Regions from separate parts of the Homo sapiens genome. Here regions 2, 3, 4, 5, 6 and 7 are each linked to region 1. The links are contacts of gene promoters, found by promoter capture Hi-C in blood cells and fetal thymus (Javierre and others, 2016). All regions are on one chromosome and are shown on one strand. Each heading gives the region's core, a stretch centred on a gene start or on the middle of the fragment in contact. The rest is flanking DNA. Distances are from core to core; before and after follow the strand shown.

What was found. Contacts are between HindIII fragments. The CHiCAGO score rates a contact against its expected background, and 5 or more counts as called.
Region 2: a contact is called between the fragment with the promoter of DIAPH1-AS1 here and the fragment with the promoter of PCDHB5 in region 1, in 9 of 17 cell types (naive B cells, naive CD4 T cells, naive CD8 T cells and 6 more). The highest score is 9.6, in naive B cells.
Region 3: the fragment with the promoter of PCDHGC5 here is called in contact with the fragment with the promoter of PCDHB5 in region 1 in 5 of 17 cell types (fetal thymus, naive CD8 T cells, neutrophils and 2 more); the score reaches 7.6 in fetal thymus.
Region 4: the fragment with the promoter of PCDHA5 here is called in contact with the fragment with the promoter of PCDHB5 in region 1 in 13 of 17 cell types (M2 macrophages, erythroblasts, neutrophils and 10 more); the score reaches 13.2 in M2 macrophages.
Region 5: a contact is called between the fragment with the promoter of PCDHA9 here and the fragment with the promoter of PCDHB5 in region 1, in 10 of 17 cell types (erythroblasts, neutrophils, M2 macrophages and 7 more). The highest score is 19.2, in erythroblasts.
Region 6: the fragment with the promoter of PCDHGA10 here is called in contact with the fragment with the promoter of PCDHB5 in region 1 in 12 of 17 cell types (naive CD8 T cells, fetal thymus, activated CD4 T cells and 9 more); the score reaches 12.9 in naive CD8 T cells.
Region 7: the fragment with the promoter of PCDHGA8 here is called in contact with the fragment with the promoter of PCDHB5 in region 1 in 9 of 17 cell types (fetal thymus, activated CD4 T cells, naive CD8 T cells and 6 more); the score reaches 10.0 in fetal thymus.

The regions. Positions count from the first base shown.
Region 1 is chr5:141,133,184-141,137,415 of GRCh38, forward strand. PCDHB5 (protocadherin beta 5) reads left to right here and starts at 2,023. Exons shown (of 1, transcript NM_015669.5): 1 at 2,023-4,232. The coding sequence starts at 2,252. It also overlaps PCDHB@. RefSeq lists an enhancer at 3,721-4,232. The HindIII fragment of the contact is 16,081 bases long and covers 1-4,232 here.
Region 2 is chr5:141,556,273-141,560,504 of GRCh38, forward strand. DIAPH1-AS1 (DIAPH1 antisense RNA 1) reads left to right here and starts at 2,039. Exons shown (of 3, transcript NR_038333.1): 1 at 2,039-2,215. All of the region lies in intron 18 of DIAPH1 (diaphanous related formin 1), which reads right to left. RefSeq lists enhancers at 1,017-1,869, 1,630-1,924. The HindIII fragment of the contact is 6,603 bases long and covers 125-4,232 here.
Region 3 is chr5:141,487,394-141,491,625 of GRCh38, forward strand. It overlaps PCDHGC5 (protocadherin gamma subfamily C, 5), which reads left to right and starts at 1,688. Exons shown (of 4, transcript NM_018929.3): 1 at 1,688-4,232. The coding sequence starts at 1,848. The region is part of intron 1 of PCDHGA1 (protocadherin gamma subfamily A, 1); the gene reads left to right. All of the region lies in intron 1 of PCDHGA2 (protocadherin gamma subfamily A, 2), which reads left to right. The region is part of intron 1 of PCDHGA3 (protocadherin gamma subfamily A, 3); the gene reads left to right. It also overlaps PCDHGB1, PCDHGA4, PCDHGB2, PCDHGA5, PCDHGB3 and PCDHGA6, and 13 more genes. The HindIII fragment of the contact is 4,500 bases long and covers 1,484-4,232 here.
Region 4 is chr5:140,819,524-140,823,755 of GRCh38, forward strand. PCDHA5 (protocadherin alpha 5) reads left to right here and starts at 2,090. Exons shown (of 4, transcript NM_018908.3): 1 at 2,090-4,232. The coding sequence starts at 2,253. The region is part of intron 1 of PCDHA1 (protocadherin alpha 1); the gene reads left to right. The region is part of intron 1 of PCDHA2 (protocadherin alpha 2); the gene reads left to right. All of the region lies in intron 1 of PCDHA3 (protocadherin alpha 3), which reads left to right. It also overlaps PCDHA4 and PCDHA@. The HindIII fragment of the contact is 13,774 bases long and covers 1-4,232 here.
Region 5 is chr5:140,845,935-140,850,166 of GRCh38, forward strand. It overlaps PCDHA9 (protocadherin alpha 9), which reads left to right and starts at 2,448. Exons shown (of 4, transcript NM_031857.2): 1 at 2,448-4,232. The coding sequence starts at 2,562. All of the region lies in intron 1 of PCDHA1 (protocadherin alpha 1), which reads left to right. All of the region lies in intron 1 of PCDHA2 (protocadherin alpha 2), which reads left to right. The region is part of intron 1 of PCDHA3 (protocadherin alpha 3); the gene reads left to right. It also overlaps PCDHA4, PCDHA5, PCDHA6, PCDHA7, PCDHA8 and PCDHA@. The HindIII fragment of the contact is 21,410 bases long and covers 1,730-4,232 here.
Region 6 is chr5:141,410,559-141,414,790 of GRCh38, forward strand. PCDHGA10 (protocadherin gamma subfamily A, 10) reads left to right here and starts at 2,429. Exons shown (of 4, transcript NM_018913.3): 1 at 2,429-4,232. The coding sequence starts at 2,618. The region is part of intron 1 of PCDHGA1 (protocadherin gamma subfamily A, 1); the gene reads left to right. All of the region lies in intron 1 of PCDHGA2 (protocadherin gamma subfamily A, 2), which reads left to right. The region is part of intron 1 of PCDHGA3 (protocadherin gamma subfamily A, 3); the gene reads left to right. It also overlaps PCDHGB1, PCDHGA4, PCDHGB2, PCDHGA5, PCDHGB3 and PCDHGA6, and 7 more genes. The HindIII fragment of the contact is 11,668 bases long and covers 1,976-4,232 here.
Region 7 is chr5:141,390,405-141,394,636 of GRCh38, forward strand. It overlaps PCDHGA8 (protocadherin gamma subfamily A, 8), which reads left to right and starts at 2,229. Exons shown (of 4, transcript NM_032088.2): 1 at 2,229-4,232. The coding sequence starts at 2,410. All of the region lies in intron 1 of PCDHGA1 (protocadherin gamma subfamily A, 1), which reads left to right. All of the region lies in intron 1 of PCDHGA2 (protocadherin gamma subfamily A, 2), which reads left to right. The region is part of intron 1 of PCDHGA3 (protocadherin gamma subfamily A, 3); the gene reads left to right. It also overlaps PCDHGB1, PCDHGA4, PCDHGB2, PCDHGA5, PCDHGB3 and PCDHGA6, and 3 more genes. The HindIII fragment of the contact is 13,870 bases long and covers 1,868-4,232 here.

The sequences.
Region 1 (4,232 bases), core at 773-3,272:
GTGAAACTACTTTGTATGATATTATAAAGGTGAATACACATAATTTTAAATTTGTCCAAAGCCATAGAATATACAGCACCAAGAATGGGCCCTAATGTAAACTATGGACTCCAGGTTATAATGACGTGCCAATGTAGATTCATCAGCTGTAGCAAATGAACCACTCTGGTGGAGGATGTTGATAATGGGTGAGGCTGTGCTTGTGTGGGGACAGGGGCATATATGAAATCTCTGTACTTTACTCTCATTTTTGCTGTGAACCAAAAACCATTCTAAAAATTTAGTCTACTTTTAAAAAACTGGAGAACTTACTTCTCAGATAACAAAACTCATGATAAAGCTATAATAATTAACACAATGAGTTATTGTAGGATAAACAAGATTGAATAAAACATCTTCAGAGCTATGGTTACCTAATTTATAACAAAGATGACATTTCAAAAACAATGGAAAATGGATTGTCTTTTAAATAGATGGTGCAAAGGTTTAAAGCATTCAGATACTTACATTTTAAACCTTTTGACTCCAAACTCATTCACTTGAAAAGTTAATTTCAGGTTGATTATAGCTTTAAATATGAAAAATGGAATAATTAATCTTTCAAAATACATCATACAAGAATATTTTCATGACCTTGGAGTATGTGAACATTTAAATAGAACACAAAAAAATGCTAATCATACATGAAACTTATTGACAAATCTGACTAAAGGTAAGAAATTTTATTCATCAAAGACACATAATAGACTTGAAATAAAAACCATAGAGTGGGAAAAGATATTTGCAATACATATATCTTAAAAAGGACTTATGCCCAGAATATATGAGAAACTTCTGCAGATCAATAAGCAAACAGGCAAATGCCTCCCCCCAAAAAAGTAAAAAGGTTTGCATAAGCCCTTCACAAGATTGTATCCTAATGGCTGATAAACATGAAAATGTGCTCAAATTGTTTAATCATCAGGGAAAATGCTAACTAAAATTACAATATCATATCACCATACACTAACCAGAGTGGTTTAAAATGGAAAAGATAGCATCAAATGTTGACAAGAATGTGGAGCAACTGGAACTCTCATACTTTGCTGGTATTAGTACGACTACTTGAGAAAACTTTCTCATTATCTGCTAAAGCAAAATATATGTGCACATCTTAATGCATAGCAATCCAACTCCTTTGAATATATTCAACATAAACACATATATGTGGTCACCAAAAGACTAGTACAAGGATGTTTATACCAGTACTACCCCAAAGAGCTTAAACCTGGAAAACAATGTTCATCAACTGGAGAATGAATAAATAAATCATAGTATATTCATACAACAGAATGATATAAAGCAATGAGAATAAAACAAATAAGAACAAGATGCCACAGATCAATTTGCTGAACATAATATTGAGGAGAAGAAGCCAGACACACGAGAGTAACAATCTATAACTCCATTTGTATAAAGTTAAAAAAAAAAAAAGCAAAAAAAACCTATGACAACAGAAGTCAGGACAGTGCTTATCTTTTGGGGAGAGGGTGGTAACCAGACAATAGCAGGTGGGGACTTGGGTTTGGGTAGTATTTTTAATCTAGGTTCTACTTACAGGAGTGTGTTCACTTTGCGAAAATTCATTGAGTTATACACCTATGATTTGTGCCATTTTCTGGGTGTTATTGGTGTTTACTTCAAAGTGAAAGTAATTTTTCTTAAACTTTAAATTTCTATAGATATTCCTGATCACTTATTTAATATAATCAAATAAGAAACACCAAACAAAGTGTATTTGTGTACTCAAGGGTACTTTTATGGAGATTAATATATAATTTTAGTTTTTTTCTCAAAAGTATTTTCTCACTGAAAATTAACTCCACAACATTTATTTAGAACTTTCAGCAACTAAGAGCTGGAGATACCATCGGGAGAGCTTATGTGACAAAAGGGTATGGATACACGTCAGTTAGAATTTAGGATGAAATGGCAAATACTATATGCAATAGTAAATTAGGACGCCTGGTGGCGCTGCAGGCTAAGAGTGTGGATAGTGGGCTCTGCGGATAACTCAGACGCCATTAAGCTGGGGAATCCAAACTCTAAAAGAAGGACGCATTTTAGGTAAGATCTAGTGGCTAGATCTTCAGGGTGGGCTTCGTTCTTGTGGAAATCAGTCAAGAAAGATCGGATTCGCGGTTATTTATGCAAATCATCTGGGTGGATTGTGTACGGAGTTAAACTGCGCCTTCTGGACCGGGTCTGAACAATGGAGACTGCGCTAGCAAAAACGCCACAGAAAAGGCAAGTTATGTTTCTTGCTATATTGTTGCTTTTGTGGGAGGCTGGCTCTGAGGCAGTTAGGTATTCCATACCAGAAGAAACAGAAAGTGGCTATTCTGTGGCCAACCTGGCAAAAGACCTGGGTCTTGGGGTGGGGGAACTGGCCACTCGGGGCGCGCGAATGCATTACAAAGGAAACAAAGAGCTCTTGCAGCTTGATATAAAGACCGGCAATTTGCTTCTATATGAAAAACTAGACCGGGAGGTGATGTGCGGGGCGACAGAACCCTGTATATTGCATTTCCAGCTCTTACTAGAAAATCCAGTGCAGTTTTTTCAAACTGATCTGCAGCTCACAGATATAAATGACCATGCCCCAGAGTTCCCAGAGAAGGAAATGCTCCTAAAAATCCCAGAGAGCACCCAGCCAGGGACTGTGTTTCCCTTAAAAATAGCCCAGGACTTTGACATAGGTAGCAACACTGTTCAGAACTACACAATCAGCCCAAATTCACACTTTCATGTTGCTACGCATAATCGCGGAGATGGCAGAAAATACCCAGAGCTGGTGCTGGACAAAGCGCTGGACCGGGAGGAGCGGCCTGAGCTCAGCTTAACACTCACTGCACTGGACGGTGGGGCTCCGCCCAGGTCCGGGACCACCACAATTCGCATTGTCGTCTTGGATAATAATGACAACGCCCCCGAATTTTTACAATCATTCTATGAGGTACAGGTGCCCGAGAACAGCCCCCTTAACTCCTTAGTTGTCGTTGTCTCCGCTCGAGATTTAGATGCAGGAGCATATGGGAGTGTAGCCTATGCTCTATTCCAAGGCGATGAAGTTACTCAACCATTTGTAATAGACGAGAAAACAGCAGAAATTCGCCTGAAAAGGGCATTGGATTTCGAGGCAACTCCATATTATAACGTGGAAATTGTAGCCACAGATGGTGGGGGCCTTTCAGGAAAATGCACTGTGGCTATAGAAGTGGTGGATGTGAATGACAACGCCCCTGAACTCACCATGTCTACGCTCTCCAGCCCTACCCCAGAAAATGCCCCGGAAACTGTAGTTGCCGTTTTCAGTGTTTCTGATCCAGACTCCGGGGACAACGGTAGGATGATTTGCTCCATCCAGAATGATCTCCCCTTTCTTTTGAAGCCCACATTAAAAAACTTTTACACCCTAGTGACACAGAGAACACTGGACAGAGAGAGCCAAGCCGAGTACAACATCACCATCACTGTCACCGACATGGGGACACCCAGGCTGAAAACCGAGCACAACATAACGGTCCTGGTCTCCGACGTCAATGACAACGCCCCCGCCTTCACCCAAACCTCCTACACCCTGTTCGTCCGAGAGAACAACAGCCCCGCCCTGCACATCGGCAGTGTCAGCGCCACAGACAGAGACTCAGGCACCAACGCCCAGGTCACCTACTCGCTGCTGCCGCCCCAGAACCCACACCTGCGCCTCGCCTCCCTGGTCTCCATCAACGCGGACAACGGCCACCTGTTTGCCCTCAGGTCGCTGGACTACGAGGCCCTGCAGGCGTTCGAGTTCCGCGTGGGAGCCACAGACCGCGGCTCCCCGGCGCTGAGCAGCGAGGCGCTGGTGCGCGTGCTGGTGCTGGACGCCAACGACAACTCGCCCTTCGTGCTGTATCCGCTGCAGAACGGCTCGGCGCCTTGCACCGAGCTGGTGCCCCGGGCGGCCGAGCCGGGCTACCTGGTGACCAAGGTGGTGGCGGTGGACGGTGACTCGGGCCAGAACGCCTGGCTGTCGTACCAGCTGCTCAAGGCCACGGAGCCCGGGCTGTTCAGCATGTGGGCGCACAATGGCGAGGTGCGCACCGCCAGGCTGCTGAGCGAGCGCGACGCGGCCAAGCACAGGCTGGTGGTGCTGGTCAAGGACAATGGCGAGCCTCCGCGCTCGGCCACCGCCACGCTGCACGTGCTCC
Region 2 (4,232 bases), core at 789-3,288, 420 kb after region 1:
TGAGTCTTACCAGGGAGAAAGCTGCTACTTAAGTAAAAAAAGTATTCGGGAAAAAAAAAGCTGATACTCTAGAATCACCATAGGGATGCAGCTATTACACAGTGGCCAAACACAGTTGTCCCAAAGCTTAAAAGCTCTCCTTTAATTCTTAGAACGGGTGAGGCCCACTTCTATGACCATGTTCTCCGTTGACGGCAGTGTGCAAACTTTTCTCAAGACTTTGGGTAACAGATTATCACGTCAGGAGAAAAGTAAGAGTCCAGCCCTTTCTCCCTCTGAAGGTGGCAGGGCATTGCTCCTTCACTTGGTCACCAATAGCCTCTGTGGGAAATCCTAAAGAAGAGGCTCTGCTCTGGCAAGAAGGGAAGTCTGGCTTTGTATCTTCTCAGTCCCAACCTGAGAGATCTTCTTTTTATTTATTTATTTATTTATTTTTTGAAATGGAGTCTCACTCTGTCACCCAGGCTTGAGTGCAGTGGTGCAATCTTGGCTCACCACAACCTCCGCCTCCCGGGTTCAAGCAATTCTCCTGCCTCAGCCTCCCGAGTAGCTGGAATTACAGGCATGCGCCACCAGGCGGCCCGGCTAATTTTTGTATTTTTAGTAGAGACGAGGTTTCGCCATATTGGCCAGGCTGGTCTCAAACTCCCAACCTCACGTGATCCGCCCGCCTCGGCCTCCCAAAGTGCTGGGATTACAGGCGTGAGTCACCGCGCCTGGCAGAGATCTTTTTAAAAGAAATTAAGTCTATAAATAAATTGCAAAATAAAAAATAAAAAAGAGCATAAGAGAGAACCTATAGAGACATCAACCAACTGCAATGTGTAGACTTTATTTGGCTCTGATTCAAATGAACTATTAAAAAAAACAACTATCATAAGATAATTTGGGAAATTTAATACTAACTGGCTATCTGATGATAAAGAATTTTTTAAATGTGATAATGGTAGTAATTATCTTCTTTTAAAAGTCCTAATTTTTTTGACACACATTCTGAACTGCTTAAGGATTAAATAATATGAACAAGGATACATGTAAAAATAATGGGTGGCAAAGACAAAGTTGATACAGGTATATGAAACAAGACTAGCTGTTGATTAAGTTTTTTAAATGGGTGATGGACATAGGGGTGTTCATACTAGTCTCTTTACATATATGTGTGTATGTGTGCGTGCATTTTTTTCACGGTTTCAAAAATAACATTTTTTAAAAAAATTCAGGACCATTTCCCTAGAGTCCTTGGGGCATTTGATTCTTCCCAGACAGCTAAGTGAAAGGGGTTCCTTTTTTTCTTCTTTTTTTGGGGGTATCTTTTCTTATCTGATCCTATAATTAAGAAAACTGCCCTAAACATCTCTGTAGCAAAAACACCTAAACCCAGGATTAGAGTCTAGATGAGGCAGAGGGGATGCCCTGGCCTGCTGCCTCAAAAGCTAGCACTCTGTCACTGTTAGTAGGTGTCCGGCAGCCAAACCATTTTGCTCTGTGCTCCGCTGGCAAGGACTTGCGGCATCGATTGCTCAGGATGCAGGCAGCCTGCAGCAAGGTGTGTCCCTGATGAGCAACTGCTGAGTAAAAGAGTACGTAGCTGCGCCTCAGCCAGTCTCCCTCCCTCTGCAAACCAGACTCCTCCTTTGCCTAACTCCTTTTTTTATTCCTGCGTCACAAATACAAAATGGAGTTAGCTGGGAGCAAAAACAATCTGTCTAAAATGGCTGAATGCGGTGGGGAGTGCCAGACAGTAAAGCGAAGGGAAAGGGCACCCCCTGGCGGCCAAGATAGGGAGTCTGTTTTATGTTCTTCACTACTTTTGCATTTCAAACGAATCAGTCCTACAGAGTCCAAGTTAATTTTGTCACAAATCTTGATGTTGAGCTCTAAAATTCAACTAATAGAAACTGAGGCACAAGAAGGGAAAATAATTTTCAGTCTCTAAAGACAAAGGGCACAAGTCAACAGCCCTGAGTTGCAGTTACTGCTTGGTTATGATCAGTAATAGTTTCTAGGAGACAACAGAACGGAAGGGAGGTCCTTTTATAGTACATGATTCCCCAGCTTCAATAATGGACTAATGACCCCCGGAATCCCACCGCTATAGCCTGCACTTCCCCAGGAATTCCTGTTTAAGGCGTCTCTCAATGAAGACCACAAACAGGAAATGGAGGAGTGGGGAGTTGCCTGACATCCTGGAAACTACGTTCTTAAAGAACTGCAGGTGGGAGTAAGTGGGATAGAAAAATGGGCTTTTCAAAAACTGTTGAGAACACGGACTGAGTCAGTTGTATCCGCACGGCTGGAAGACAGGCAGCTCCACCTAACCTCACTCACTTACTCAGGACCAAAACCCTACTTGCTCTGCCCAAGATAAAGCCTGCAGCATTTGTACCTATTCTACAGGGAACACCCTCCATTATCTTTATCTTACGCTACACCTCCCTTGAGTAAGCCAAGTACCTATGACTAAAAAAGAACATGTAAGAAAGGTGGAAAAAACAGAAATTATCTGGAAAAACTTGTGGGTACAAGTCATTAATGGTTGCCACTACTTAAATGAGGCTGCACAAATACGCCAGTTTATCCAACGTCCCTAAAGTGAGATAATGGCAACACATACAACACAGGTGCACAAAAATCACAAGTTGTTAAAAAAAAAAAAAAAAAGACTCTGGCATCACTATAGTTTTCTCTGAAGAAATAGGGTCTTTGTGGAAGAATCTTAGATCTCTCAGGCATATATGAAAGATCAGAACACTTAATAATCTCTCCAGGAAATAACTTTCTGTGAGGGTAACATAGCTATGGAATTGCCAAGTTCACCTAGCATACAATAAGCCATGTCTATTAAGCACTACATCAACTCTCTAATTCTGGGAAGAGGAGACAGTAAGAGGGTCTTAATGTTAATATAAGTGTTAATATAAGAAGCTGCCCAAATGGAGGACTTCTGATTTATATTCTTCATGGTTGTAATATACATAAGGGATAAATTCAGCACTTTAAAACAATCACTAAGGTATACATTATAGAAGGAAAAAATATCATGCCAACCGAATAGCAGTTATCCCTGCCCAAAGGTAACCGTATCACTGATACCTTGGCCAAAATATACAACTATCTGCAAAATCCCACAGAACTAGACCATTACAGATGTGCAAGCTGTAAGGAGGGACAGGGCAAACTGGCATTAATGAACAAACCTAAAGGACAAGAACAAAGCCACACAGAATCCCAAAGGAAGAACCAGATGCTGAGAGTTATAAAGAAGGGGACAGATATAAGTCTGGAAGGGTAGCAGAAAAGCAGTATTAAAAATCTGGGCACTTCACCAAGCATTTGGTCTTTCAGATAATATAGTCATTGAGTTTCCCACAGATACTTTCCCAGCACACCCAGGATGGTGACTCAATTAGGGAGTGCTAAAAAGAGGTCTGCTTCTAGGATGTGGGTGGGGAAGGACTGGAAGGACAGGCACTATCCCAAACAAGGACTCAGGTATGTCAGCAAAGAGGACAGGTTTATGCAAGGAAACAATAGGCTAGAGGGCAGAAGAAAAGGCATTAAAATAAGGTACTAGAAATAAAACTCTTTTCCTGGATTAAAAAATGTTTTATTATGGGAAAAATTAAACATTCAAAAACACAATTATTAATCCCCATGCATACATCACTCAGTTTCAACAGTTATCCACTCGTGACCAATTCTGTTTCATCTACACCCCACTTCTAAATCCCATAATGATCCGCAATTATTTCTGTACACATCTCTAAAAGATGATGACTTTTTAAAAAATGCCATGAAACCATTATCACACTAATTTCCAGCTGTCTCAACTGTCAAGTGTTTTGTATAGTTCATTTGGATCAAGATCTAAATAAGTTCCATATACTGTACTGGTTGATAAAATTTAAAATTCCCTCTTAATCTATATGTTCCTCTCCATCTCATTTTTTCCCCTGAAATTTATTTGTTGAAGAAATCAGGACACTAATCACTGGTAAAAATCAAGAAGCACTAGCACAGTTACTTTACACTGTCAGTCACTGGAAGCAAGCACCTGAGGTTTCTCTCAACATGCCTGCATTCTTGCCACTCCCTTTCACTAAGTGCTGGATTTGAGCCCAATATATCTAGGCTCAAATTCTGGCTTGGTGTTTACTTGCTATAAAATCTTAACAAGCAAAGGACATATTAATTCTCTTTTATATCTCTCAATTATAAAACAAAGATAATAC
Region 3 (4,232 bases), core at 438-2,937, 350 kb after region 1:
GAGGGGCTTCCCCCTTCCAATGGGATCCTCCGAATCCAGCTAGGGTCAGATGACCCTATCAAGTTTGTTGATGTGGGAGGCCACTCTCATGGCTGTACACCCTTGGCTTCTGCACCCACTCGGAGTGATAGCTTCATGATGGTGAAGTCACCCAGTGCACCTATGGCAGGGGAGCCTGTTCGCCCAAGCTGCCCACCCTCTGATCTTCTCTATGGGCTAGAGGTGAGACCTTTGCAGGCTCAACAAATGCTTGAGGGTTATTCTGATCCAGGCATATGGCTAGGCCATGTCCTAGAGAGTACTGGCCTCTCAGTAAGTGCCCATAGTGATGTCACCATTTTTGTAAGAGGTAACTATGTGGTAGACGCTGTGCTTTGTAACTGTTTCGTGAATTAACCAGAGTTGTCACAGTTTAGCATTGGGGGCGGGTCATGCCTATATCTGAGTAAGAAATGAAAGTAATTGGTGATCAAGAGCCAGGCTGTTGTGGAAGCATGATGATGGAATGTGGGAGCACAGGAGGCTACAGTGCACAGGGTACAGTGCACCAGGCAGTCACTTGGACAAAGGTGGCTGTTTTCTCTACTCTTCCTGAAAGAGGGGATCAGATTCTGAAGTACCTTAACTCTAGGTTACCATTTCCCAAGGGATTGAGGGGAAATAAAATCTTTGTCTCCCAGTATCTAGTACACTGTGAAGGGACCTCTCTATTTGAAACATAGAGACAGCAGAAAGAGGAGAGAACTAAAGGAATAGAGAGGCACGCATCAGAGTGGTGGCATAGATCTTTTGGTCTGGGTCTTAGGACTCATATCAAGTCCCTACTGGGGATTTGAACTAGATGCGGTAAATTGGAAGGTTGGGGCGGGTTGGTCATCACCTTTGGAAAAAACAGTAAGTGAAATCACTTATGTCAGAAAACTGGTTTACAGTTGGCTGATTCATAGAAACAGCCACCCTGTGCATCTTTAAGTTGAGTTCTCCTGAATTTGGTGAAACCATGAAACCTAGAAGCCAAGCCATCCATGCTTGGCCTCTGACCACCCTCCTGGGTGACCTGATTCAGCCCCAGAAATGTTCCCCTACCCAAAAACTGTAACACTCATTCCACATTTGGGGTCTGGGGTGTCAGAAAAGCTAAGTCCCATGTCAGCTGACATTGAGATTTCCGCAAAGCATTGCTGGAGAGTCAGGGCAAGACTTTACAAGGTTCTTACTAATCTTTTCTCTCACCTTAGCAGCATTCAGCAGGATGGGGGAGGGTGGGGGAATACATGGGCTTTGCCTCTCCCAGAAGGACAAGATTTTGCTGGTTCAAGCAAAGTGGTGGAAGCTTCTGAAGTCATGCAGGAAGTTGCTGGGACAGAACGCTGAGGAGTTTTGTATCACTTTGTCTTCCCTGTTGAGTACCATCTGAGCTGTCAAACTTTGCTGCCAAGGGGGCTGAATCAACCTGCAGCACGAAGTGAGTGGGGAGGTAGGAAGCTTCTGTGACACAGATTTGCAGCCTGTGTTCCCAAGGTTTCCAGGATTGAGGAAACTCCATAATTGGTTGAGAGCACACAGACTTTTTGGCCAATCAGACTCAGAGCTGAGGTGGGAGATCTGCTCTTCCAGCCCGCCTCTCCTCCTCCAGCTCCCCAGCTCCACTCAAATTCAGCTCCCCTCCCCCCTGCCCACCCCCGCCACTCGGTGACTAAGAACTGCTGCAAGCAGGCAAACCTCCGAGCAGTTTTTAAGAGGCTGGAAGGAGACATAAGAGACTTCAGCTGCTGCATTCCAAGCCCTGGGTCTACCTTGGAGACAGGACAGCACAGACTTACTCTCCACAAAGGGACTTCTGGGTCATGGGGCCCAAGACACTCCCACAGCTCGCTGGGAAATGGCAAGTGCTGTGCATGTTGTCCTTGTGCTGCTGGGGCTGGGTGTCTGGGCAGCTTCGTTACTCAGTGGTGGAGGAGTCTGAGCCGGGGACGCTGGTGGGGAATGTTGCTCAGGATCTGGGCTTAAAGATGACAGATCTGTTGAGCCGGCGGCTGCAATTGGGCTCTGAGGAGAATGGGCGCTATTTTTCCCTGAGCTTGATGAGTGGTGCCCTGGCAGTGAATCAAAAGATTGACCGAGAAAGCCTATGTGGAGCCAGCACCAGCTGCCTGCTGCCAGTGCAGGTGGTGACTGAACACCCCCTGGAGCTAATCCGTGTAGAGGTAGAGATCCTGGATCTCAATGACAACTCTCCTAGCTTTGCCACCCCTGAGCGAGAGATGCGCATCTCAGAATCAGCAGCATCTGGGGCACGATTCCCACTGGACAGTGCCCAGGATCCGGATGTGGGCACCAATACTGTGAGCTTTTACACTCTAAGCCCCAACAGCCACTTCTCTCTGAATGTGAAGACCCTAAAAGATGGGAAGCCATTCCCAGAGCTGGTGCTAGAGCAGCAGCTGGATCGTGAAGCCCAGGCAAGACATCAGCTGGTGCTTACTGCTGTGGATGGGGGGACCCCAGCCCGCTCAGGGACCACCCTTATCTCTGTCATCGTGCTGGACATCAATGATAATGCTCCAACCTTCCAATCCTCAGTTCTACGTGTGGGAATCCCAGAGAATGCACCCATTGGTACTCTGCTGCTCCGCCTCAATGCCACTGATCCAGACGAGGGCACCAACGGCCAACTAGACTATTCTTTTGGAGACCACACATCTGAGGCAGTGCGGAACCTCTTTGGCCTAGACCCTAGCAGTGGGGCAATCCATGTGTTGGGTCCCATAGACTTTGAGGAGTCACGTTTCTATGAAATTCATGCAAGAGCCCGTGACCAGGGACAGCCTGCCATGGAGGGCCACTGTGTGATTCAAGTGGATGTGGGGGATGTCAATGACAATGCCCCAGAGGTGCTATTGGCCTCTTTGGCCAACCCTGTCCTAGAGAGCACACCAGTGGGCACAGTAGTGGGGTTGTTTAATGTGCGAGACCGGGACTCAGGTAGAAATGGTGAAGTGAGCCTTGATATCTCTCCGGACCTGCCATTTCAGATTAAGCCTTCTGAGAACCACTACTCGCTGCTAACCAGCCAGCCTTTGGACCGGGAGGCCACATCCCACTATATCATCGAGCTGCTGGCCAGCGATGCTGGTTCACCTTCCCTACACAAACATCTCACCATCAGGCTCAACATTTCAGATGTCAATGACAATGCACCCCGCTTCAACCAGCAGCTTTACACTGCTTACATCCTAGAAAACCGGCCTCCGGGCTCCCTTCTTTGCACTGTGGCTGCCTCAGATCCAGACACTGGGGATAATGCCCGCCTCACCTACTCCATTGTAGGAAATCAGGTTCAGGGAGCCCCAGCCTCCTCCTTTGTGTATGTCAACCCAGAGGATGGACGGATCTTTGCCCAGCGTACCTTTGACTATGAATTGCTGCAGATGCTGCAGATTGTGGTGGGGGTTCGAGACTCCGGCTCTCCCCCATTGCATGCCAACACATCTCTGCATGTGTTTGTCCTAGACGAGAATGATAATGCCCCAGCTGTGCTGCACCCACGGCCAGACTGGGAACACTCAGCCCCCCAGCGTCTCCCTCGCTCTGCTCCTCCTGGCTCCTTGGTCACCAAGGTGACAGCCGTGGATGCTGATGCAGGCCACAATGCGTGGCTCTCCTACTCACTGTTGCCACAGTCCACAGCCCCAGGACTGTTCCTCGTGTCTACACACACTGGTGAGGTGCGCACAGCCCGGGCCTTACTGGAGGATGACTCTGACACCCAGCAGGTGGTGGTCCTGGTGAGGGACAATGGTGACCCTTCACTCTCCTCCACAGCCACAGTGCTGCTGGTTCTGGAGGATGAGGACCCTGAGGAAATGCCCAAATCCAGTGACTTCCTCATACACCCTCCTGAGCGTTCAGACCTTACCCTTTACCTCATTGTGGCTCTAGCGACCGTCAGTCTCTTATCCCTAGTCACCTTCACCTTTCTGTCAGCGAAGTGCCTTCAGGGAAACGCAGACGGGGACGGGGGTGGAGGGCAGTGCTGCAGGCGCCAGGACTCACCCTCCCCGGACTTCTATAAGCAGTCCAGCCCCAACCTGCAGGTGAGCTCGGACGGCACGCTCAAGTACATGGAGGTGACGCTGCGGCCCACAGACTCGCAGAGCCACTGCTACAGGACGTGCTTTTCACCGGCCTCGGACGGCAGTGACTTCACTTTTCTAAGACCCCTCAGCGTT
Region 4 (4,232 bases), core at 840-3,339, 310 kb before region 1:
GTCAAGAAAATAATCTGTAACATTTGATTGAAGAAAATAGCTTAGAAGAAGATTTTTTAAAATGTTCTTTTCCTGTGGAGTCTCCCATGAAATTCAGATTGGATAATCTATAGTTACTGAGAAAGGAATATTCAAAATAAGAGTTGATCACTGTAGCACAAATGCAAGTGATAATTTAAAAAGTAAATATAATTTAACAGATATGAAAGTGAATCAAAAGTCAAGAGTCTTGTTTCCTCCTGAAATATCTATATAAGTACATGAGATATTTTTTCCAGACTGAGAGGAGCATGTGAACTGATATTGTTGATGACTTTTTCTCCATTGAGTATATCTTTTAAAATACTCAGTATTTATCATAATACTCTGCAGATTACAATGTACACATTGTTAATACTACATTGTTAATTTGCCTTTTAAATACTTAATATTTACTTTTTTCAAAGGTTATCTTTGTGTATTTTGTATAAAATTCTACTATAATTTATTCCATAGCTTTGTAGTTTTACATTATTTACTGTTATATAATAGAAAGTGGCTAACATCAGCTAATGCTGTTTTCTAAATATTTATTATCATTTTCTTATGTTTTTAACCATTGTGTATTAAAATATTTCAAAATTATCAGTATGAAAACTATTAGGCAAATAGTCTGGGAAATTGATTTGTGTTTCAACGATCCAAATATTAGTGAAAAGTCATGATAATAGAGATAGTAAAAATCTTATAAGGGAACTGGTAAATATATCTTTAAAGATTGTATCAGAAACAATTCTATGACAATATCTTGTTTCTTTACAAGTTTGAATTCCAGAAATCAAGTGAATTTCCTCTGACTTTGCATTTTCTGGTAATTTCTTTTTTCTTATCAAGCTATATTTTAAATGTAAAAGTATCCAACAATAGAATTGCTAATCTCTTGGTCCCTCTTGTCTTCACAGGTAAGGGATATTTTGTAATATTTAAGGAATTTTATGGAGTATATATACAAGCAGAATGTTAGCTATTTCTTCAATAGAAAACTTGGTGATATTTTCTTTTGCCCATATTTATTAAGTGAAGTTTACTAAATTTTCTAGGTCGTGTTCAAATCATACCATCCAGTAAACAGTTGGGAGATTAAAAAGTAATTAAACTAATATAAAGATAGCCTGGTTAATAAAATGATATTCTTTTCAACATGATTATATTTACTGGAACCTAAACATTTTGTGAAATAGTATGTCATATAGACAATATTAGGATTTTGACTTGTTATGTAAGTACAAAGGTATGTATTTTACAATTTTTAATAATTGCTTTATCAGTAATAGCAACTTGAAGAAATGCTATCTAGATGCTTCTAATTTGAAAATAGTGCAAAGACGATTTACCAAAGTCGTTCTATTATGCTTTTGATTTCTAGAAAGCTGAAATATCCCCATTACAGTTTTTGAGTCAATACAAAAAGTAGATAGGTGTTATAGATAAAGAAATAGGTTTTCATCGATTTGAAAATTAGAACTCCGAGAAGAAACTCAGGTAAGAATGCCATTAAAATAGTTTTAGTTGTTTTTGAAAATAACATCAACAAAATGTCACTATTAAACAGTGAAATTGGAATAAAAATTTGTTTTATGAGTAACACGGAGATAGCATACAAACATTCCATTGACTAATACAGAAAAAACTCAAAAGTTTTAATTAGATATGTTTAAATAGAGATGAGAAAAGTCAAAACTTTAACTCTTAAAAGTTATTTTTATCAGTTTGGAAATATATAAACTCCTCCCTATATAAAATACACCAGCACAAATTTCTCTAGTAAGGATTGGGGTTTCATGACTTTAGATGTATTTTTCTGTAATATTTTAATGACGCACTTATATTGACGCATTTTAAGATAGAGTTTAATGATATATTTTGACTAGAGATAAGTGATTTAAAGAATAAGAATCATGTCATTGAAAGTGAGAATACTTGAGAAATATTGACGAATATAAGCTAAATAAAGCAAAACAAAATAAAACACTTACCCTTTCATCCACATGATGTCGCTGGACACCGGAAGGTTTTTCTCCCTTCCCAGCCTCAAAGGAATACAGTGAGTAGATTTTCCTTAGACAGAAAGGAAAAGAACCTTCCATTTTTGGCTGTGCCAAGAAGCTCAGAAAGGCGATAATATAAAAAATATATAGTTAATTGGGAATTGAATTTACAAAATACATTGTGTGGTGATGCAATAGAAAGCTCATAATTGGAACGAGATTGAGATGGTATATTCCCGGAGAGGAAGTCTGGGATCCCGGCTCCTGCTGCTCTGGCTTCTCCTTGCCTACTGGAAGGCAGGGAGCGGCCAGCTCCACTACTCGATCCCGGAGGAAGCCAAACACGGAACCTTCGTTGGCCGCATCGCGCAGGACCTAGGGCTGGAGCTGGCGGAGCTGGTGCCGCGCCTGTTCCGGGTGGCGTCCAAGGGCCGCGGGGACCTTCTGGAGGTAAATCTGCAGAATGGCATTTTGTTTGTGAATTCTCGGATCGACCGGGAGGAGCTGTGCCGGCGGAGGGCGGAGTGCAGCATCCACCTGGAGGTGATCGTGGACAGGCCGCTGCAGGTTTTCCATGTGGAGGTGGCAGTGAAGGACATCAATGACAATCCGCCCAGGTTCTCCAGACAAGAACAAAGATTATTCATTTTAGAGTCAAGAATGCCAGATTCGCGGTTTCCGCTAGAGGGCGCGTCGGATTTGGATATTGGAGCAAATGCACAATTGAGATACAGGTTAAATCCAAACGAATATTTTGACTTAGATGTTAAAACAAATGAAGAAGAAACGAACTTTTTAGAGCTGGTTTTGAGGAAATCCTTAGATAGAGAAGAAACACAAGAACACCGTTTATTAGTGATTGCAACTGATGGAGGAAAACCCGAACTAACAGGTACAGTTCAGTTGTTGATCAATGTATTGGATGCTAATGATAACGCCCCAGAATTTGATAAATCCATTTATAATGTCAGATTGTTGGAAAATGCACCAAGTGGGACATTAGTTATTAAACTGAACGCCTCAGATGCAGATGAGGGCATCAATAAGGAAATAGTGTATTTCTTTAGTAATCTTGTTCTTGACGATGTAAAGTCCAAATTTATAATTAATTCTAATACTGGTGAAATAAAAGTTAACGGGGAACTGGATTATGAAGACTATAACTCATATGAAATTAATATTGATGCCATGGATAAAAGTACATTCCCATTATCAGGACACTGTAAAGTAGTAGTGAAACTCCTGGATGTGAATGATAATACCCCAGAGATGGCCATAACCACCCTTTTCCTGCCTGTCAAAGAGGACGCTCCACTCAGCACGGTCATTGCTCTGATCAGCGTGTCTGACCGTGACTCAGGTGCCAACGGGCAGGTGACCTGCTCCCTAATGCCCCACGTTCCCTTCAAGCTGGTGTCCACCTTCAAGAATTACTACTCGTTGGTGCTGGACAGCGCCCTGGACCGCGAGAGCGTGTCGGTCTATGAGCTGGTGGTGACCGCGCGGGACGGGGGCTCGCCTTCGCTGTGGGCCACCGCCAGCGTGTCTGTGGAAGTGGCCGACGTGAACGACAACGCTCCGGCGTTCGCGCAGCCCCAGTATACCGTGTTCGTGAAGGAGAACAACCCGCCAGGCTGCCACATCTTCACGGTGTCTGCACGGGACGCGGACGCGCAGGAGAACGCCCTGGTGTCCTACTCGCTGGTGGAGCGGCGGGTGGGCGAGCGCCCGCTGTCGAGTTACGTTTCGGTGCACGCGGAGAGCGGCAAGGTGTACGCGCTGCAGCCGCTGGACCACGAGGAAGTGGAGCTGCTGCAGTTCCAGGTGAGCGCGCGCGACGCGGGCGTGCCGCCTCTGGGCAGCAACGTGACGCTGCAGGTGTTCGTGCTGGACGAGAACGACAACGCGCCGGCGCTGCTGGTGCCTCGAGTGGGTGGCACCGGCGGCGCAGTGAGCGAGCTGGTGCCGAGGTCAGTGGGTGCGGGCCACGTGGTGGCGAAGGTGCGCGCAGTGGACCCTGATTCGGGCTACAACGCTTGGCTTTCGTATGAGCTGCAGCCAGCGCCTGGCAGTGCGCGCATCCCGTTCCGCGTGGGGCTGTACACAGGCGAGATCAGCACAACACGCTCTCTGGATGAGACCGAAGCACCGCGCCACCGCCTTCTGGTGCTGGTGAAGGACCATGGAGAGCCCCCGCTGACAGCC
Region 5 (4,232 bases), core at 1,198-3,697, 290 kb before region 1:
TCTGTAAAGTCATTTTTTAGATTAACCTAGGATGTTTCAATATTTTGAATGTTGTGTGGTGGAATGAAAAAAATCTAAAAGTTATTACGAGTTTAGGAAAGTCAAGTTAACACCACCTATGTGGGAAAACAGTTTTTTGGAAAGGTTAAAGTCCTTCCAAGGAATGTGTAGACTATCTTACTTTGATAGTTGTATGTTTCCCATATTTAAAAGTTGCCTGAGATCCTGCAGAGGCCTGAGTAGGCGTTTGAGTTCTTTGTATGTATGAGATCTTTCCATTAATAGTATTTTTCTTAAAAAGAAGTATACAATAATGTTTTGATGATGATTTAAAGTCAATTTATGTTGTAGTTCTATGAATTAAGTAAACCATTTATGTAGAGTGTTGTAAATAGCCTTTTAAAGTGCTTTCTCTTTTTTCTTTTCTTTTCTTTCTTTCTTTTTTTTTTTTTTTTTTTGAGACGGAGTCTCGCTCTATCTCCCAGGCTGGAATGCAGTGGCGCAATCTCGGCTCACTGCAACCTCTGCCTCCCGGGTTCAAATGATTCTCCTTCCTCAGCCTCCCAAGTAGCTGGGATTACAGGTGCATGCCACCATGCCCTGCTAATTTTTTGTATTTTTAGTAGAGTCGGGGTTTCACCATGTTAGCCAGGATGGTCTCGATCTCCTGACCTCCTGATCCGCCCACTTCGGCCTCCTAAAGTGCTGGGATTACAGGCATGAGCCACCGCGCCCAGCCTAAAATGCTTTCTTAGCAAGTAGAGAAGATTGTAATAACCAGTCTTCATTAAACATTAAATAGGACCCTTACAGATCTCTAACAGCATATCATCATGTCAGGAATTATTACTGAGCCCCAGCCCCTGGCTTTAAAATTTGAGGTCAAATAAAGAATATGAGTCACACAATGCAAGGCAAGATAATGTAACAGGTACAAGAGGTAAATCAGAATGACGTTGAAGTTGAAAGACAATCATTTCCTATTTGAATTTTTGAAGAAATACTTGAAGGGGCATGGTGTGTTTCAGTGGTTTTAAAATAAGTAAGTTCCCCCCGGGAGAATATTGAGAATGATAGACATTTCTTGGAAAGAGAAAACATAAGGAAAGTTGAAGACACAGAAAGCATCAATATGACAAGTAGAAAAGTCCACTTTGGTTAAAACACACAGTCTGCAGAGAATGAAAGCAGGAAAACCAATGTAAGAAGATCTCTTGATTTCTGAGTAATAAACTAAAGGGCCATGAGTGATTAAGGAATTTGGCCACTCTTTAGAATTAATTGGGAGCTATTTAACTACCTTGAGCAAAATAAATCACGACTTTTGAAAGAAGGTTGAACGGGAAGACAAACTCAGAAGCTCCTGCAGTAATCAAGGACAGAAGCAATTGTTAAATGCACCTCTTAGGCTGTTATCAGTAGAAATACGAAATAAAAGATAAATATGCAAAAACATTAATGGCACAATAAACACTCACGGTTTTGCCTTTAGACTTGAGATACACTAAAATCTAGATTTAATTAATCGACTTGGACGTTGGAATAAGATAGTAAAACTCACAACAAAACTTTGTAGAACTTAGTCAGGAAAAGAATCTCAAGCATAGCTTTAAAAACAGAAATTGCCCCGAGTACTAAGGATGAGCAATAATGAAATTAAAACATATTGTAATAACATTACACAAACTATATTGGAGACTACAAAGAAGAGATTATTCATAGATTATAAAGCTTGGAAAGAATCAAAACAACACATTTCTGGAAACAGATTGTATAAATGCTACAAAAGAGAAAAATATATTTTCTCCCCACGCAACACAAGACCTTAAAGTCAATTCTCGCTTTTCTTGCAATATTTTATACCTTTTCAATTCATAGAATTACTCAAGAAAACTACCTCAGTTGGTTGCTACTTTTTGTTGATTCCTTTTACCAGACATGACTAAGTTTCTTTTTCATCAGTAGATTTCTGGGCTCCTATATTCACTAGAGATTGCAACTCCTGGATTTCTCTTACACTAGAATCCTATTTCGAGCCATATGGGAGATTCTGAATTCCAGAACAAAAGAATTTTGTAATTTAAAATTCGTGATTGCTCAATGGAATCATTTTAATTGTTACTTCATTTCTGTCGTTATTTAAAACTTAAGTGGAGAGTTTTCTCAGGGATAAGAAAACCACAATCAAGGTCATACAAAACTTTTAGAGGCAGTCAGTCTGCTAAGAAGGCTCCAGCAAGAGAAACGGGATCTTCTGTTTCAACAATCATTACTTAAGAAAAAATTAAGAAAATGAAATAAGTTTTGCAGAATAACTGTGAAATTTTTATTCATGAAATATGTACTTACACTTTGGGCCACGTGATGTCACTCTTTGCCGCGATGTTCTCTCTGAATCCAGACAAATACAGCCCTTTTCCCATGGGAAAGAGGCTCAATTCTTTTTCACTCTCTCTGTGCTGAACGATGGCGAACACAGCAGAATGGGACTGACGAAATCAGATGATTTCTTCTAATTTGGAGGCAATTTTCACTAATTAGAAGAAGACTGAGTATTTGAAATGTTATACTCAAGTCGAGGAGATCCAGAGGGTCAGCCTCTACTGCTCTCGCTTCTGATCCTCGCAATGTGGGTGGTGGGGAGCGGCCAGCTCCACTACTCCGTCCCGGAGGAAGCCGAACACGGCACCTTCGTGGGCCGCATCGCGCAGGACCTGGGGCTGGAGCTGGCGGAGCTGGTGCCGCGCCTGTTCCAGTTGGATTCCAAAGGCCGCGGGGACCTTCTGGAGGTAAATCTGCAGAATGGCATTTTGTTTGTGAATTCTCGGATCGACCGCGAGGAGCTGTGCGGGCGGAGCGCGGAGTGCAGCATCCACCTGGAGGTGATCGTAGACAGGCCGCTGCAGGTTTTCCATGTGGACGTGGAGGTGAAGGACATTAACGACAACCCTCCAGTGTTCCCAGCGACACAAAAGAATCTGTTCATCGCGGAATCCAGGCCGCTTGACTCTCGGTTTCCACTAGAGGGCGCGTCCGATGCAGATATCGGGGAGAACGCCCTGCTCACTTACAGACTGAGCCCCAATGAGTATTTCTTCCTGGACGTGCCAACCAGCAACCAGCAGGTAAAACCTCTTGGACTTGTATTACGGAAACTTTTAGACAGAGAAGAAACTCCGGAGCTTCATTTATTGCTCACGGCCACCGATGGAGGCAAACCCGAGCTGACTGGCACCGTTCAATTACTCATCACGGTACTGGACAACAATGACAATGCCCCAGTGTTCGACAGAACCCTGTATACGGTGAAATTACCAGAAAACGTTTCTATCGGAACGCTGGTGATTCACCCCAATGCCTCAGATTTAGACGAAGGCTTGAATGGGGATATTATTTACTCCTTCTCCAGTGATGTTTCTCCAGATATAAAATCCAAGTTCCACATGGACCCCTTAAGTGGGGCAATCACAGTGATAGGACATATGGATTTTGAAGAAAGTAGAGCACACAAGATCCCAGTCGAGGCTGTCGATAAAGGCTTCCCACCCCTGGCTGGTCATTGTACACTTCTTGTGGAAGTTGTGGATGTAAATGACAATGCTCCACAGTTGACTATCAAAACGCTCTCGGTTCCTGTAAAAGAGGACGCACAACTGGGGACAGTTATTGCCCTGATTAGTGTGATCGACCTAGACGCAGATGCCAACGGGCAGGTTACCTGCTCCCTGACGCCCCACGTCCCCTTCAAGCTGGTGTCCACCTACAAGAATTACTACTCGTTGGTGCTGGACAGAGCTCTGGACCGCGAGAGTGTGTCCGCCTACGAGCTGGTGGTTACCGCGCGGGACGGGGGCTCGCCTTCACTGTGGGCCACGGCCAGGGTGTCTGTGGAGGTGGCCGACGTGAACGACAACGCACCAGCGTTCGCGCAGTCCGAGTACACGGTGTTCGTGAAGGAGAACAACCCGCCGGGCTGCCACATCTTCACGGTGTCTGCGCGGGACGCTGACGCGCAGGAGAACGCCCTGGTGTCCTACTCGCTGGTGGAGCGGCGGTTGGGCGAGCGCTCGCTGTCGAGCTACGTGTCAGTGCACGCGGAGAGCGGCAAGGTGTACGCGCTGCAGCCGTTGGACCACGAGGAGCTGGAGCTGCTACAGTTCCAGGTGAGCGCGCGCGACGCGGGCGTGCCGCCTCTGGGCAGCAACGTGACGCTGCAGGTGTTCGTGCTGGAC
Region 6 (4,232 bases), core at 1,179-3,678, 280 kb after region 1:
GAGCCTTAATTCCACCTCATGGTGGGGAGGATTTGACTTCACATCCTGAGACTCTGACTTCGGTGAGTTTCTCTTTTTTGTGTGTGATTTATCTAATAGTCTACTAGTTTCTCATATTTTAGGCATACTACTTTATTTTCATATCTAGAATCATATGTTTAAAATCCATAGCTTTTTACAATATTTTCTCAATGTTTTTTCAATTATAGTTTTCACTATGTATTTGGTTCATAAGTTGCTCTATCTTTTTGTAAAATAATGTCACCAGACTGAAGATATTTTGTCTTTGTCTTTTTTTTTTTTTTTTTTTTTTGAGATGGAGTCTCGCACTGTTGCCTAGGCTGGAGTGCAGTGGCGTGATCTCTGCTCACTGCAACCTCCGCCTTCTGGGTTCAAGCGATTCTCCTGCCTCAGCCTCCCAAGTAGCTGGGATTACTGGTGCCCCTCACCACAGCTAAATTTTTTGTATTTTTAGTAGACATGGGGTTTCACTATGTCGACCAGGCTGTTCAGAAACTCCTGTCCTCGTGATCCTCCCACCTTGGCCTCTCAAAGTGCTGGGATTACAGGCGTGAGCCACAATATTTTGTCAAGTTCTGACTATCGAACAGAAGCAGTGGTCTTGGCATCTAAGAAAACAAACAAGTAACCTATCTATTCAAATTTGCGAAGACTTAGTGAATTTACGATATCTTATTTATATATTTTTAAAGCCTAAAAATATTCAGAAGACAGGCCCAGTGGCTCACACCTATAATCACAGCACTTTGATAGGCTGAATCGGAAAGTATCACTTGAGCCCAAGAATTGAGACCAGCCTGGGCAATATAGGGAGACCCCCCATCTCTACTAAAACAACAACAACAAAAAAAAACATTAGCAGAGTGTGGTAGCATTCCCCTGTGGTCCCAGCTACTTGGGAGGCTGAGCTGGGTGGATTGCTTGGTCCTGGGAGGTCAAGGTTGCAGTGAGCCCTGATCTTGCCACTGCACTCCAGCCTGGGCGACAGAGTGCGACCCTGTCTCTAAAATAAATAAATAAATATGCAGGCAGGGCCAAGTGTGCTGTAATCCCAGCACTTTGGGAGGTGGAGGTGGAGAATCTCTTGAGCGCAGGAATTTGAGACCAGCCTGGGCAACACAGGGAGACTCCATCGCTACAGAACATTTAAAAATTAGCAGGGTGTGGTGGCACATGCCTGTGGTCTCAGCTACTCTGGTGGCTGTGGTGGGAGAATCGCTTGAGCCCAGGAAGTCTAGGCTGCAGTGAGCTGTCTAGGTGACAGAGTGAGACCCTGTCTCAAAAAAAAAAGACATTTCTAAGAAATAAATGAAATACTATTGCCTTTGCACTCAGTCTCTGTCTCTGATTCTCTGATAGAAGATTTTTGAAGAAAAAAGATAAAATCTTTGAAGAGTTCTATACTTGGAAGGCATAGTGACATAAACACTTCTGAACATCCTGTTCTCTGTGTGAAAGAAGTGAACTTCTATACCCTTTGCATTTGAGGGAACAATTGCTACTGGGTTGATGGGCACACACAGTTGAAGATATGTGAACCACTGGACTTTGGCCTCTGATACAAACTGCCTAAGAGAAGAGATTATTTATACTGGTATTAATGCTCTGATGAAAACAGGTCATTTGACATAAACACTTACTTGTTAAAAACCTATATCACTACATCTAACTTTGTTTTCTAAAACTTTTAGTACTTCAAATTCTACGTATTTCTTTTCTCATTACAATGCAAACAGTTTAATTTGCAACTGTAATATATGTTCATTTTAGTTTGTGATTACCTGCTTAATCATTTAAATAGGTCCATTTAACTTGTATCCCTGTAAGATAAAGTATGTTTTACACAAAAAGGTTAATTAAGGCTCAGTAAAACTATTCTAGAAGAGTACTTTAAAAACCTCTTACACAATCCTAAGCTAAATAAGTTTAATGAATTAAGTAGTTACAATTATAAAGCTTCAGAGTGAATTATCTCATGAGTTTATTTAATATAATCTTTGTATGAATGTATACTAAATAAAATTGGCCTATTCAAATCACAATTTTAAATTATAAGACTTTTCTGAATTTACCTAGACACTAATATGACCTAAAATAAGTATTATTTACCTTTTATTAAAGTGTGTACATTTCTGTTGGGAAAACGTGTTGCAAATATATATTTAACCAAACATTATCTTGAAATATTTACAATATTTTCACTCCACTTTATCACACCTCCCCTAAGAAACCTACATATAGTAAATTATTTAAAGATAGGAGTGGAGAAACCAAAGAATCTATGTAAAATATAATAATCCAACAGAATAGTTTACTTTCCATTGCATGTATCACTTGGGTGCAGTAACTTCTTAGGACTCTGAGCGCCGCTGTTCACCTACTAGGAGAGAAAACGCAGCCAGAGCTCAATCCGGATTCTCAGGGCTTCAACTACACAAGCCCCACAAACCGGCTGCTGGGCTGCAGGGAAGCTCACTCCAGAATTTAAAGTGCCCAGGCTACAGAGACACCCTGAAGCCACAGAAAGACAAAGGAACCGGTTGAAACACACAACGTGTCCAGTGAGGACTTTGCAGAATTCTGTAACCAGACTACAATGGCCGCTCAAAGGAATCGCTCAAAGGAATCAAAGGATTGCAGCGGGCTGGTCCTGCTCTGCCTTTTCTTCGGGATTCCATGGGAGGCTGGAGCCCGGCAGATCTCCTACTCAATTCCTGAGGAATTAGAGAAAGGCTCTTTCGTGGGCAACATCTCCAAGGACTTGGGTCTGGCGCCCCGGGAGCTGGCGGAGCGCGGAGTCCGCATAGTCTCCAGAGGTAGGACGCAGCTTTTCTCTCTGAACCCGCGCAGCGGCAGCTTGATCACCGCGGGCAGGATAGACCGGGAGGAGCTCTGCGCTCAGAGCGCGCGGTGCGTGGTGAGTTTTAATATCCTTGTGGAAGACAGGGTGAAACTTTTTGGGATAGAAATAGAAGTAACTGATATCAATGACAATGCTCCAAAATTCCAAGCAGAAAATCTAGACGTAAAAATTAATGAAAATGTCGCTGCGGGAATGCGTTTTCCTCTCCCGGAAGCTATTGATCCGGATGTGGGCGTGAACTCCCTGCAGAGCTATCAGCTCAGCCCCAATAAGCACTTCTCCCTAAGAGTTCAGAGCCGTGCCAATGGCGTCAAGTACCCGGAGCTGGTACTGGAGCACTCCCTAGATCGCGAGGAAGAGGCCATTCACCACCTGGTCCTCACCGCCTCCGACGGGGGTGACCCTCTCCGATCTGGCACTGTCCTTGTCAGTGTGACTGTCTTCGATGCAAATGACAACGCGCCGGTCTTCACCTTGCCAGAATACCGAGTGAGTGTTCCTGAGAATTTGCCTGTGGGCACTCAGCTGCTGACAGTCACAGCCACCGACAGGGACGAAGGTGCCAATGGAGAAGTGACATATTCATTCCGAAAATTACCTGACACGCAATTGTTGAAGTTCCAACTAAACAAATATACTGGAGAAATAAAAATATCAGAAAATCTAGATTATGAAGAAACCGGTTTCTATGAAATAGAAATACAAGCAGAAGATGGAGGAGCATATCTTGCAACTGCAAAAGTGTTGATTACAGTAGAAGATGTAAATGACAACAGTCCAGAGCTGACCATCACGTCTCTATTTAGTCCAGTGACTGAAGATTCACCTCTGGGAACAGTCGTAGCCCTTTTAAATGTGCATGATTTAGACTCTGAGCAGAATGGACAGGTAACCTGTTCCATTTTGGCGTATCTACCATTTAAATTAGAAAAGTCCATTGACAGTTATTACAGATTGGTGATACACAGAGCCCTTGACAGGGAACAGGTATCCTCTTACAATATCACAGTGACAGCCACAGATGGGGGAAGTCCTCCTCTATCAACGGAAGCTCACTTTATGCTACAAGTGGCAGATATCAATGACAACCCACCTACCTTCTCTCAAGTCTCCTACTTTACCTATATCCCAGAGAACAACGCCAGGGGTGCCTCCATCTTCTCAGTGACAGCGCTGGACCCGGACAGCAAAGAGAATGCCCAGATTATTTACTCCCTGGCTGAAGACACCATCCAGGGGGTACCTCTGTCCTCATACATATCCATCAACTCAGACACTGGCGTCCTGTATGCACTCAGATCCTTCGACTATGAGCAGTTTCATGAGCTACAGATGCAGGTGACAGCCA
Region 7 (4,232 bases), core at 979-3,478, 260 kb after region 1:
TTGTAGTCAGTTAAAAAGCTGTCATATCATTCTACAAAGGAGGAGTAAAGTAGGAGCAATTGTGTGGCCCAACATTTGTTTGTTTTTTAGCCAAGCTTAGATTTATAAAGCAATGAGGGTGTGGTTTTAACCACAAAGTGAAAGTGTTAGACAGTTGTTGGCTCTCTCCTAAAAAGTGAATGAGATTTTTCCTATACATTTTCCTTCTTGTTGACTAATATATGATGAATACTTTTTTCAGCTTGGATATACCATAAATATAAAAATAATAAAGCCAAAGAATTTAAGCTAAAATTCAACACTTTTCTTAACTAATTTAACTGGTATGGTCTCCATAGTAGTCCACTGTTTTGTTTCCTGTGTTAACTTCCCTTTTGTTTCAAAAGCTCTTAGAATAAGGAGTCAACTGGATTTTTATGTCCATGGACCCCTTGTGATTATATGCAGTGTACGCTGTGTGTGCGTGTGTGTGTGTGTGTGTGTGAGAGAGATCCTTTTACTTAGAAAAAGGTCTACTATGCTCATTAGAAGATCAAAAGCAGATTCTCCTTACTTGTAACATAGGAGTTTCAGGATTAATCTGTATTCAAGCTCATTCTATATCCTTCATCAAAGAAAAGACAATGTTTTGTGTCTGTTGTCCCTCTCACACACAGCCCTAATATATAATGTGTAACTGCCTTATCTGCAGCCCTAAACTAATATAGCTAGAGGTCTTCTAATCATTCTCCTACCTCTAGGAAAGAAATATAGTCTTGAAAACTGCCAATCTGGTGTGCATACAAAATATATACAAAATACCAAGGAACATTATATGAGCCTTTTGCTAGGTATATCTAAGCAACTGCTTCAGTTAATGGCCACTTTACAAATTGCTGAAAGAAGGAAACGTCTTTCGATTCTTTTTTTTTTCTTTTTTTTTTTTTGAGACAGAGTCTCTGTCTGTTACTCAGGCTGTAGTGCAGTGGCACAATGATAGCTCCCTCCAGCCTCAAACTCCTGGGCTCAAGCATTCCTTCTGCATCAGCCTCCTGACTAGCTGGAACTCAGGCTCATGCCACCAGACCTGGCTAATTTTTCTGTTTTCAGTAGAGAAAATATTTTCTTTCACTAATTTAACTGGTATGGTTTCCATTGTCTACCCAGTTTTCCATATGCATAAGAAAATATATTCACAGGAAAATATAAAGTTTTCAGATTTCATGAGTGGTTTTAAGAAAGTTTTAGTCAGTGAAAAAACTATCATACCAGTCTTCAAAGGAAGGGTGAAATAAGTTCATCTGCTACGTTGCCCAGGCTGGTCTTGAAGGGAAACAGACTTTTTTGTAGTCATACTTATCCTTTGGCTTCTTAGTAAGTATTATATAGTCATTACTTTTTGCAGTTTTTTAGATCAAAGTGTTAATGTAGGTAAAGTTAATTTTAGAATATATGTAAAAGTCAAGTCTGCTTTAAATTTAATCATCTCTTTGGTGAAAGGGATGGGATGGAGCTTTGCTTTTTATCATATATTCATCTGTACCTTTCAAGTATTCAAATAGAAAAATATAAACAATGTAAATAAAATAGCAAAACAATGTAATATCTCATAAAACTGCAATGGTAAAAGCATTTATCCTATTGAAATTCCACAATTTTTATTTGAAAATATTATCGACATGTAATTCAAGTGGCATTTAGAAGAATAATTTAAAAGCAACAACTCTATAGAAAGCTTGTAAAATGATTAAGTAGTTTAAACCAAATAAAACAATTTCTGAGTCAGTCATCTCCAGTAGGTCTATTTTAGTCTCAAGATAAATTCATTTCTGGTGACAACTGAAGTTCTTAGTTATTTGTTAGTATATATTGGAGACATTTACAATAAAGCTTAGAGCACAATGGGAAATGAAAGTATCATGTTTTTTTTAAGACCAAATGTATTGCAGAAATGTGAGTAATTTAATCCGATGCTACAATCTGATCATTCTGATCTAATCTGATCATTTAATAACACTAAATAAAACCTTCATCTCACATTCTTTGGCTGTTTCTTTTAAAATATGGGTTTACGGATAAATCAAATAAATTCAAAACAAAGTAATAAGCAAATGATTTTTTTTTCTCAGTAATCTAGTAGAGTATTACATTTAGAAGTAATCTGTATCTCAGTGCAGTAACTATTTAGGACTGTAAGCGCCGCTGTTCACCTACTGGAAGACAAATGCAACCGAAAACACTCAGATCTCACACCTCACGAAGACCCGCAGATGCCACAAACTAACTGCTGGACTGCAGCGAAACCCGACCCCTGTTTGGAGGCACTCCAGGTTTCCGGAGGATTGTCATCTCCATAGCTGCGGCAAGAAACTAAATAAGACCCATTTATGCACAGTGAAGATTCTGAGAGGATTCTGCAGCAAAACAACAATGGCCGCTCCACAGAGTCGCCCCAGACGCGGCGAGCTGATCCTGCTGTGCGCGCTGCTGGGAACGCTGTGGGAAATCGGGAGGGGACAGATTCGCTACTCTGTGCCAGAAGAGACGGACAAAGGCTCCTTCGTGGGTAATATCTCCAAGGACCTGGGGCTGGACCCCCGGAAGCTGGCGAAGCACGGAGTCCGTATCGTCTCCAGAGGTAGGACGCAGCTCTTTGCTCTGAACCCGCGCAGCGGCAGCTTGATCACCGCGGGCAGGATAGATCGGGAGGAGCTCTGCGCTCAGAGCCCGCGGTGTCTGATAAATATTAACACCCTGGTTGAGGATAAAGGAAAACTCTTTGGGGTAGAAATAGAAATAATTGATATTAACGATAATAACCCAAAATTCCAGGTCGAAGATCTAGAAGTAAAAATTAACGAAATCGCGGTTCCTGGAGCACGTTATCCACTCCCAGAAGCTGTTGACCCGGATGTGGGCGTGAACTCCCTCCAGAGCTACCAGCTCAGCCCCAATCACCACTTCTCCCTGGACGTGCAGACTGGAGACAATGGAGCCATAAACCCAGAGCTGGTGCTGGAGCGCGCCCTGGACAGGGAGGAAGAGGCTGCTCACCACCTGGTCCTCACGGCCTCGGATGGCGGCAAGCCGCCTCGCTCTAGCACAGTGCGCATCCACGTGACAGTGTTGGATACAAATGACAATGCCCCGGTTTTTCCTCACCCGATTTACCGAGTGAAAGTCCTTGAGAACATGCCCCCAGGCACGCGGCTGCTTACTGTAACAGCCAGCGACCCGGATGAGGGAATCAACGGAAAAGTGGCATACAAATTCCGGAAAATTAATGAAAAACAAACTCCGTTATTCCAGCTTAATGAAAATACTGGGGAAATATCAATAGCAAAAAGTCTAGATTATGAAGAATGTTCATTTTATGAAATGGAAATACAAGCCGAAGATGTGGGGGCACTTCTGGGGAGGACCAAATTGCTCATTTCGGTGGAAGATGTAAATGACAATAGACCAGAAGTGATCATTACGTCTTTGTTTAGCCCAGTGTTAGAAAATTCTCTTCCCGGGACAGTAATTGCCTTCTTGAGTGTGCATGACCAAGACTCTGGAAAGAATGGTCAAGTTGTCTGTTACACACGTGATAATTTACCTTTTAAATTAGAAAAGTCAATAGGTAATTATTATAGATTAGTGACAAGGAAATATTTGGACCGAGAAAATGTCTCTATCTACAATATCACAGTGATGGCCTCAGATCTAGGAACACCACCTCTGTCCACTGAAACTCAAATCGCTCTGCACGTGGCAGACATTAACGACAACCCTCCTACTTTCCCTCATGCCTCCTACTCAGCGTATATCCTAGAGAACAACCTGAGAGGAGCCTCCATCTTTTCCTTGACTGCACACGACCCCGACAGCCAGGAGAATGCCCAGGTCACTTACTCTGTGACCGAGGACACGCTGCAGGGGGCGCCCCTGTCCTCGTATATCTCCATCAACTCTGACACCGGTGTCCTGTATGCGCTGCAATCTTTCGACTATGAGCAGATCCGAGACCTGCAGCTACTGGTAACAGCCAGCGACAGCGGGGACCCGCCCCTCAGCAGCAACATGTCACTGAGCCTGTTCGTGCTGGACCAGAATGACAACGCGCCCGAGATCCTGTACCCCGCCCTCCCCACAGACGGTTCCACTGGCGTGGAGCTGGCGCCCCGCTCCGCAGAGCGTGGCTACCTGGTGACCAAGGTGGTGGCGGTGGACAGAGACTCGGGCCAGAACGCCTGGCTGTCCTACCGCCT